2 separate regions of the Homo sapiens genome follow, and region 1 is linked to region 2. The links are contacts of gene promoters, found by promoter capture Hi-C in human tissues and cell types (Jung and others, 2019). All regions are on one chromosome and are shown on one strand. Each heading gives the region's core, a stretch centred on a gene start or on the middle of the fragment in contact. The rest is flanking DNA. Distances are from core to core; before and after follow the strand shown. Region 1 has its middle 67 kb from the start of SMIM21. Region 2 holds the start of SMIM21 (small integral membrane protein 21).

Region 1 (4,165 bases), core at 987-3,486, 67 kb before region 2:
ACCTGACGTGAGAATGGGAGCAATTTTCATGCCTGTTTTTCTCCGCTCCTGTGTGTAGGCCCAGCGAGAATGGGTATTCAATGGCCTTTGGGGGAGGTATTTGAGCACAGTTTGTGGTGCATGGCACCACTGATGGGTGCCTTTTCCTTAGAAGCAATACAACGTTTCTTTTTCAAGTGAGCCACCCCCATCTCCAAGGGCTGCAGCCCATCTCTACCAGCATGTCTCTGTTGTCATGATGATGCCGAGTTGAAGGACCATTCCAGGAACGCATGATTCATGACCTTCATTTGGTATTAAGCTTCTGCACATACAGTTTTCCAGAAGCGAACTGTGACATCTAGAGTTCATGAGTGGATGGTTGGTGGGAGAGCCACAGTGTCATGGGCTTTTCTCTTGGCTTTGAACTTCCTCTTATGCCTGTGCCAGACTCTGAGTCTGGCCTCATGTCCACTGGCTTTGTTTCCCATTTTCCAGCTCCTTGGATAAGAGGGCACTGTTTGACTCTGTCCTGCCAAGGTAGCAGAAGTCAGGGGCAGCTTTCAAGGTTTCAATGCCAATGAAGACTTCAGTGGCAAGGTGGCCTTCGCTGGATGTGAATCACACAGGACCCAGGCTTTTAGGATGATGAATAGCTACAGCATGGCCCTCATAGGAAATGTGACTCAGTCGCTGGCGGAATTCTTGGGCGAGGGGGAAAGGTGTCTTGGGATCAGGAGCACATTCCAATGCCGGCTCTGGCTCATAGGACGCTAGAGTGGAGAGACATTAGGGGGTATGTAGCTCAAGTGTCTGATTTTATAGATAAAGAGGAAGAGAGCTGGCGAGCTGGAGGGGCTTCCCTGAGGGCACAAAACCAGGGCTGGAACCAAATTTTTTTGACATCCTGTCCTGTGTTCTCAATATGGCATGTGGAAGCTTGCTGCTTCCTCATTAAATCAAATCCTTTGATGTTGATTGTTCTGAGGTTAAGAAGTTTTGTCTCTGCAGCTGAACTATAAGCTTTATGAGGATAGGGACTTTTTTAGTGTTCTTTAGCATCCTGAAGAAATTTACAGTACAGCTAGGGAAGAGAAAACTAACACATACAAAATCAATAAAGAATCATTGTATACTAAACCAAGTGTTGAGTAGAATGGGGATTCAGAGGAAGGAGATATTTGTACGCACTCAAATAATTGGAAAAACTTAGAATCAGATTTGTCTTAAGAAGTGGAAGGGAAGTAAGAAGATGTCCTAGTAAGGGAGTGCACCTCTGAAGGCTTGAAGACTGGGAGGGGAGTGGAAGTGAGACAACACGCTGGAAACAGAGACCTCCCCAAGGAAACTGTGGGAGACAAGGTTGGAAGGTTAGGGTGGCTCAGGCTGTTAGGTGCCATGGAAGCCAGGCTGAGGGGTCTGTGGCAACTGAGGAGCTTCTGGGAGCTTTTGAGCTGGGGAACAGCAGGTGACACGAGCTGGAGGCAGCATCTGGAGGCAGGTGGAGAGGAAGCAGAGGAGGATGTGAAGAGTGCATTGGGAGCTACACAGAGGGGATTTGTCACAGTGAGGAAGGCTGAGAGCTTGGAGGTCCTCCTTAGATAGCTCTGAGTCCAAATCCAAGCTCCACACTTGCTGGCATGACCTTGGGCGGGGAATATTTTTTCACCTGTCCTCAGTTTACTCTTCTGTAAAATGAGGACAATATAATTTACTCCCAAGGGCTACATGTAATAACATCTATGAAATGCTTAGTTTGGTTCCAAATACGTGGAAAAACACCCAGTCTATGGTGGCCGCATTAGTTTCTTGTGGCTGTTGTAACAAATGATCACAAACTTGAAGGTTGAAAACAATTGAAATGTATTCTCTCCTATTTCTAGAAGCCACTAGTCTGAACTCAGCATCAGTGAGTCGAAATCGAGGGCTGACAGGACCGGATTCCCTCTGGGTGGTCCAGGAAGGAATTCGATTCCTTTCCTTTCCAACACCAAGAGCTGCATTCCTTGTGTTCTGTGGGTCACGGTCACTGCCCCCGTTGTCCAAGCCAGCAGCACAGCCTCTCTGTGAGTCGGCTTCTCTCTGCTTCCATTGCTTGGCTCTGTCTCCTGCGGGCAAAGCCCCTTCTGCCTCCTTCTTGTGATGACACATGCAATTGCATCAGGCCCACCAGCATGGTCCAGGACCACCTCCCTGTGCTACGCTGAGTTCTACAGGTGAGGGCTCTGTTCACAAAGCGCCACACACCTGGCGTCGTAGCACAGGAATTCATTGTCTGACAGCTCTGGGGGTCAGATGTCCCAGATCATGGTGTTGGCAGGGTGGGCTCCTTCTGGAGGATTGGAGGGAGAAGCTGCTCAGACCTTTCTGCTGGCTTCAGGCGGTGGCTGGGGTGGAGGAGGTGAGCAGGTGGAGGAGCTGAGAGGTGGGAGAGGTGGGGGACAGAGAGGGAGTCTAGCAGCACCAGCCCAGAACTTGGGTGATGAGGACAATTAGTCTACATTGGAGGGCCCCATCTCCCGGCAGGACTCCTTCTGTTCTCCAAGGTGGGGGTAGCATTAGCTGAGTGATTTCTTGCGTTTGTCTGAGACTAGAGGGTGTCCTGGCCAGGTTCTCGGGTGTCTGGAATGCTGTCTTCCAGGAGATACTGGGCATGGAGACAAACACGTGTCCATGGCCGCAGGACCAGCTGGCCGTGAGGGGACTGCCTGTGTGGTCTTGCCGCAGTGGGTCCCCGTCCAGGTGGTGCAGAGGGAACGTGGGGCTGAGGTGTCTTCATGGGAGGCCATGTCGGGGGGGCATTCCACGGCCACGCTCTGTCTTCATGTCCTCCAGGCATAAGCAGAATAAACAGATGAACACAGAGAGACTGGGACCAAAGCACTGGTGACAACCCTCTTCCTGATGGTGTCCTGAGTGTGGGAGAGCAGTGACCACCAGTAAGCGTGGGTGTGCGTGCACGTGAGTCACTCACTCATAAGGGACTCTCCGAGTGAGTGTGAGGGTGCGTGAGTGGTTGTGTGTGAGGTGATGAGTGTGTGTGAGTGGTTAAGTGTGTGTGAGTTTGTATGATTTTGTGTGTGTGTGAGGACGTGTGTGTTTGTGTGTGTGGTGATGTGTGTGTGTCTATGTCTGCATGAGTGTGTGTGCATATGTGTGAGTGTGTGTGAGAGAGTCACTCAGACTCTCACGAGCGAGTGTGAGGGTTCATGAGTGGCTGAGTGTGAGTGTGTGAATGGCTGAGTGTGAGGGAGTGTGAGTGTGTGTGAATGGCTGAGTGTGGGTGAGTGTGGCTTGAGTGTGAATGTGAGTGTGTGAATTTGCATATGTGAAGTAATGAGTGCGTGTGAGTGGCTGTGTTTGCATGAGTGTGAGTGTATGGTTATATGTGTTTGTGTATGGGCAAGGTGGTGTGTGTATGAGTGGCTAAGTGTGTCTGGTAAGTGAGTGTGAGTGTGCATGTATGTGAGGGTGTGTGTGAGGTGATGAGTGTCTGAGTGTGTCTGGTAAGTGAGTGTGAGTGTGCATGTATGTAAAGGTGTGTGTGTGAGGTGATGAGTGTCTGAGTGTGTCTGCATGTGAGTGTGTGTGTGTGTTGCAGGGAAGTGGGGGGTCAGAAAGCCTCACTCAGGTAGTGACCCCTCCACGAAGTCAGCAAACGCTCACTTCCCCTGCACCCTGCACACGGGTTGGTGGAACCCATGAATACAGAGGAAATGCACACTTGCACCAAAGAGGAAACCGCCCAAGCCCTCCCTCTGCTCTGTGTGTCTGCGTGTGCAGCTCCCATCCCAGAAAACAGAATCCATCAGCCAGGATGAAGTAAGTTCCAGCCACCAGGAACTCTATAGAGTGGTTCAAAATGGGTAAAACAAGAATATCTCGGAATCACAGAACACCAGCTCCTGTAAGGAGCCACACATTCCTAGAAAGGAGAAAAAACAGTCCTTCTGAAAAAACCCACTTCCAACACCCACATCCCACAGACACAACAAAATAGGAACAGGGGAAAATTCAAGATGGGGGAAAGCCCGGAAAAGCAACACCAGAGAGGGAAGACAAAGAGCAGCGTGACAGTCCACTTGCTGCTGCTCCGGAGTGAACCGTGAGGAATAGTCCTGGGAATTCACGAGCCGCTTTGCCACCTGTGAGAACACCGTGGCTTGGGCTGCTGGAGGAGCTGCTG
Region 2 (4,570 bases), core at 1,549-4,048:
CTTTTAAAGCTTCTGCTCAGATGTGCTGCACATCACACTCCTCACGCTGTTGTGGGCAAAGCAAGCCACAGGCCAAGCCTGGTAGTGGATCAGCTCCCTCAAGTCTCATGGCGATGGGCGAGTGTATCTGCTGTTACTGAGAAAAGAGAGGGGTAAATAGTTGTGACAGATGATACAAATGTGCACACCTCAGCTGACACAACTCCAGTGGAACAGGCTGTCTGTTGTACTGGAACCAATGTGAGCTTTTGGATTTTCGTCGTCTGTGCATGAGAGAGATTCCACTGGACACCAAGCTTATCCACAGCCTCCATCCAGAGATATCTGGATTTAATGAACACCCAGTCACTGCCTGCAAACAGGAGATACTGAGTTTCCAGTACATAAGAACTCCTAGATGCATGAATACCTAAGAAGAAATTAAATGTGAAGATCTGATCAGAAACATAGTGGAACCAGTGAACACTGGCCAAAAGAAAAAAAAAGTCCCATTCCACTGCCTGGACAATAGCAGGAAGGAATTCCTTATAGTTTCATGCCCTGTATTGGCTTTAGAGTCATTAATGAACAGTATCTATGTCGTATGATCCATGAAGTAGTGAGAATTGTTCACACCTGAAACCATTTTCCTACTGGCTACAGAAACGTTACCATCATATGATTTATTATTAAGTGTTGTTTTCCTTGTCAACATTTTGTGGTTTAACAGCCCACCTAAGTGTGAATCAGTTATCAACTGGCTTTCTTATTGAAAAGACAGACGAGGCTGCATGAAAATGCTTAGCACATGGGTAGGAAGCAGTGGATGAAAATAGCAGAAGTGGGACCCAGAAGATGAACTCTTTTACATTTGATTATTCAGATTATATGTAAGTTCCCATCCTGCTGAAATCTCTTCAGCAGCAAGTTAACCTCCAACCTAAGAAAGATGGAAGAAATCAAGAGTTGAAGATGGAGGGGACAGGGACAGTCTCTGTATCTGTGTGCTCCCTGAGGTGGGGGCCCCTGCCTCTCCCATCTTTGCACTCCTCATGCCTACTGTGTACCTGGTGCAGACCAGCTGCCCTGAAATGTTTGAGGTGCTGTGTTACCATTGCCTCTTTTGATTGCCCACCGAGTGCCTCCTGAGTCATGCACCCCATCACAGCCCTCACGCAAGGCCTGGAGACAAACCCAGCACACACCGGCCTAGTATTAATTCATAACCATCATCATGTACCTAAGATTCTACCTACCTGGATGTTGATTGATGAAATTTATAAAGTATTAGAAGGACTTCAAATCGACTTACAACTATCACATATGAAATGCACAAAACCAGCTTTTAAAGCCTTCTATAATTTGTTTAAGACTGAAGAACTTTAAGACCATTACTTTTATTTATTTATTTGTTTGTTTGTTTGTTTGTTTGTTTGTTTTTTGAGGGACAGAGTCTCGCTCTGTCACCCAGCCTGGAGTGCAGTGGCACAATCTCGGCTCACTGCAAGCTCTGCCTCCCGGGTTCACACCATTCTCCTGCCTCAGCCTCCCAAGTAGCTGGGACTACAAGTGCCCGCCACCACGACTGGCTAATTTTTTGTATTTCTAGTAGAGATGGGGTTTCACTGTGTTAGCCAGGATAGTATCAATCTCCTGACCTTGTGATCTCCTCGCCTCGGCCTCCCAAAGTGCTGAGATTACAGGCATGAGCCACTGCACCCGGCCCTAGACCATTACTTTTAAAATGTAAAAAAAAAAAAAAAAAAAAAAAAAAAAAAAAAAAAAAAATGGAAAAAGGAAAAGGAAATAAAGAAGCAGCAGTGGGGATCAAGACAGAGGAAGGAGATGCTACCTGCCTGCTCCCATCCATCTCCTCTTCACAGTCAGAAACACTAAGAGGAACCCTGTGCTACAGGAGAAGACATTCCAGAAATTTTGTCTTAGGACTTTAACCTTTCCGATATATGACTGGGTCATAAACTTCCTTTTCAGAAGCTATTGATCACCCCATCACCTCTGCAAATGGGGTGTCTATAAATGCCATCTGTTGCCTGCACATTGGCTACTGGTTCATGAATGGTTAAATTTGTTGCAACTTTTGCTTCTGTCCTGTAATGAAGGAAAAGAAACTTTCTTCTAGGAGTGCAGTATCAAATTTGTCTGGGTAGGTTGAGTTTGTAGGTGTTGCAGGTGCACCTAGGCTTAAAGCATTTGGAGGTATCCTTGCATCTGTGTTAAGAGGCTCTCTCTGTAGGGGAGAGATCATTGACTCATTGGCCTGTATACTGATGTAATGTCAAGGGGAGGGCCCAGTACCTTTTCTGAAAGGGGCAGCTCTTCCTCAGATTGGGAATTGGAATTGGGAGGTTGTCTTGGCCAGAACTGAGAAAGAAAGAGCTCTGGATTGACGTCTCATCTTAAACTTCGTAGAATCTGGATTTGAGAGACAGAGCACTCACAGGAGATTGGGGCAAAAGAGTGCTTTGTAGGACCATACCTGTGCAGTGATACGTCTCTCTCATAACCCAAAGTTAAAGACCCATAAACTCACTGTGGTAAGTGCTTTCTTCTGCAGCAAATTCCCCTTGAATATCCGTCCCATTCCTGCAGAGTCTTGTTTAAATGTTCCCAGCTGTGCTATAGGGAATCGGGGAGGAGCTGTGGACACATACTGGTCCATGTGGGGGCTGCGGCGGTGACCAGTGAGAGGTCTCCTTGATGACAGCGACTCTGAGGACACAGAGCTGGTGCTATAAGACCTGGTAACTAAGTTCCCAAGGAGCTTTTCTCTTCTTTGCCAACCTTGAAGATCTGGGTATTATTTTATGAAGCTGGATGGAATCTTCCCACATGTAGAGTTCTCAGGTCCAGGTATTATTTTATGAAGTCGGATGGAATCTTCCCGCACATGGAGTTCTGAGGTTTCTCAGGTTGCTCTCTGGCTCAGTGATGCTGTGTGAGAATGTTCAACCATATCTCCACAGCACAAGCTTTGGATCTGATGTCAAGAAGCTTTTGTGAATATTAAAAATGAACCGCATCTCCCTGAATCAAAATAAATACTACTATATGCACTTCAATGGAAATAAAATCTGGGATTCTTTTTGGGCCCTAAGCAAAATGTAGAAATTCATTTTCCCATCAGACTTTTCAGTAACTTTCTTTTAACCTAATGAGACACTCCACAGGAGACTAACATTTCTTTCGCTGAATTCCAAGTGTAGGTTTCCTGGGTTGTCCATTTAATTGTTAAAGTGAGAGAGATTCTGCTGGAAGACAAGCACCATGGAACAGCAGGAGGAAAGCTGAATGGAGGTTACTTGGGAGCTACCCCAGGAAGAAGCGCTGTGCAGACCATCATCGCAGGGTGGAGAGTAGCCATGAGACGTGTGTGGTGGCCTCTGGATGCTGCTGTGCTGCCTCATGGGAATTTTCACAGATCTTCCACTGTTTGTAAATGGTGCCCAATGAGCGGAAAATTAAGTGGTACTTAACACACACACGTTCACCAAATACTTGCAGCGTTATCCCCATAGTGTGGATGGCTTTTGACAAGGTGCCTGATGAAGAGAGATGCACATAGTTGTGAGTCCCAGCCTACAGAAGCTCATGATGGGTGCTCCACAGTGTTGGTGTTGAGTAAAAATGCCCAGGACAGTATGCACTGTGCTTGACGCACAGTATGACTAAGAAAATACCTGTTATTATGTGAACAGTGACCATATGCACAGCATACAAATCAGTAGCCCAGTGCTGTTCTGATGGTCTTGTCCTGAGTGGTTTTTCCCATCTAGTTGGAGACAAGACTCATTCTCTAGAAAGAAGAGCAAAAAATGGTGGGTCCCACCAAGGCCATGGACAAGGGAAAGGCAGAAACGTGCAGAGGGAGCAGAGACAGAGGAGGCTTGAGACCTGTGTGGAGGGACAGGAAGGGAGCTCGGAAGCCCGTTTTGTAGCAGATCCCAAATTGTGAAAGTTGATAGTTGTGGAGCACACATATGCAGAGTAACATCTAGAATTCTCAGAGTTGGTGATTTAAAGAAAAGAGAAAAAAAAAACACTGACTAAAAATTAATCTTCAATTTCCCACAGGCCTTAAACTTCCAGCTGCTAAAAGACAGTGGGGTGTAGGGGGTGGAAAGAGACCTCATCTAGGAGGGACAGCTTGGTCTATGACAGTTGAGACAGGTGCCAAGGAGGGACGAAGTTGCTCTCTGCCAACTAGACTTAGGGGAAAAAACAACCATAATCATGTTTATTTTCATGATAAGCATATGCAAATCAGGCCACTACAATCTGTAAACATGGTAATTCCTCTTTATGGATAAGTTCAACTTAAAAGTTGTGAACAAGAGCAAAAGGATATAGTTTTCTAGTTTTCTAATGAGCTCAGAGTTTATGCCCAGTTATAGTTGAGCTCTGGAATGGTTTTTCTAGCTCTTCCTGTCCTTCTGTAGTTCTGGTAGAGAACCTATGAGGACCAGAAACAGAGCAAAGGCGGTTTAAATCCTGGCTGAACCGATTGCCCTCCACATGACCTAGGACAATTGACCCAACCTTTGTAGGCCTCAGTTTCCTTTCCTACAAAATA

What was found. The method cuts DNA at HindIII sites, captures the fragments that hold promoters and counts their contacts. A contact is called where the count stands out against the background at its distance.
Region 1: a fragment that was not itself captured here is called in contact with the fragment with the promoter of SMIM21 in region 2 in 4 of the 25 tissues and cell types used here (H1 embryonic stem cells, adrenal gland, bladder and 1 more).

Annotation. Positions count from the first base shown.
Region 1 is chr18:75,358,436-75,362,600 of GRCh38, forward strand. No RefSeq gene overlaps it. Among named protein-coding and RNA genes, the nearest start is that of SMIM21, 67 kb to the right of the region's middle. RefSeq lists enhancers at 1,679-2,220, 2,221-2,761. The HindIII fragment of the contact is 7,469 bases long and covers 1-4,165 here.
Region 2 is chr18:75,424,905-75,429,474 of GRCh38, forward strand. SMIM21 (small integral membrane protein 21) reads right to left here and starts at 2,799. Exons shown (of 3, transcript NM_001037331.3): 1 at 2,531-2,799. The coding sequence starts at 2,659. It overlaps LOC105372200 (a long non-coding RNA gene), which reads left to right. Exons shown (of 4, transcript XR_935636.3): 4 at 1-1,757. The HindIII fragment of the contact is 8,486 bases long and covers 1-4,570 here.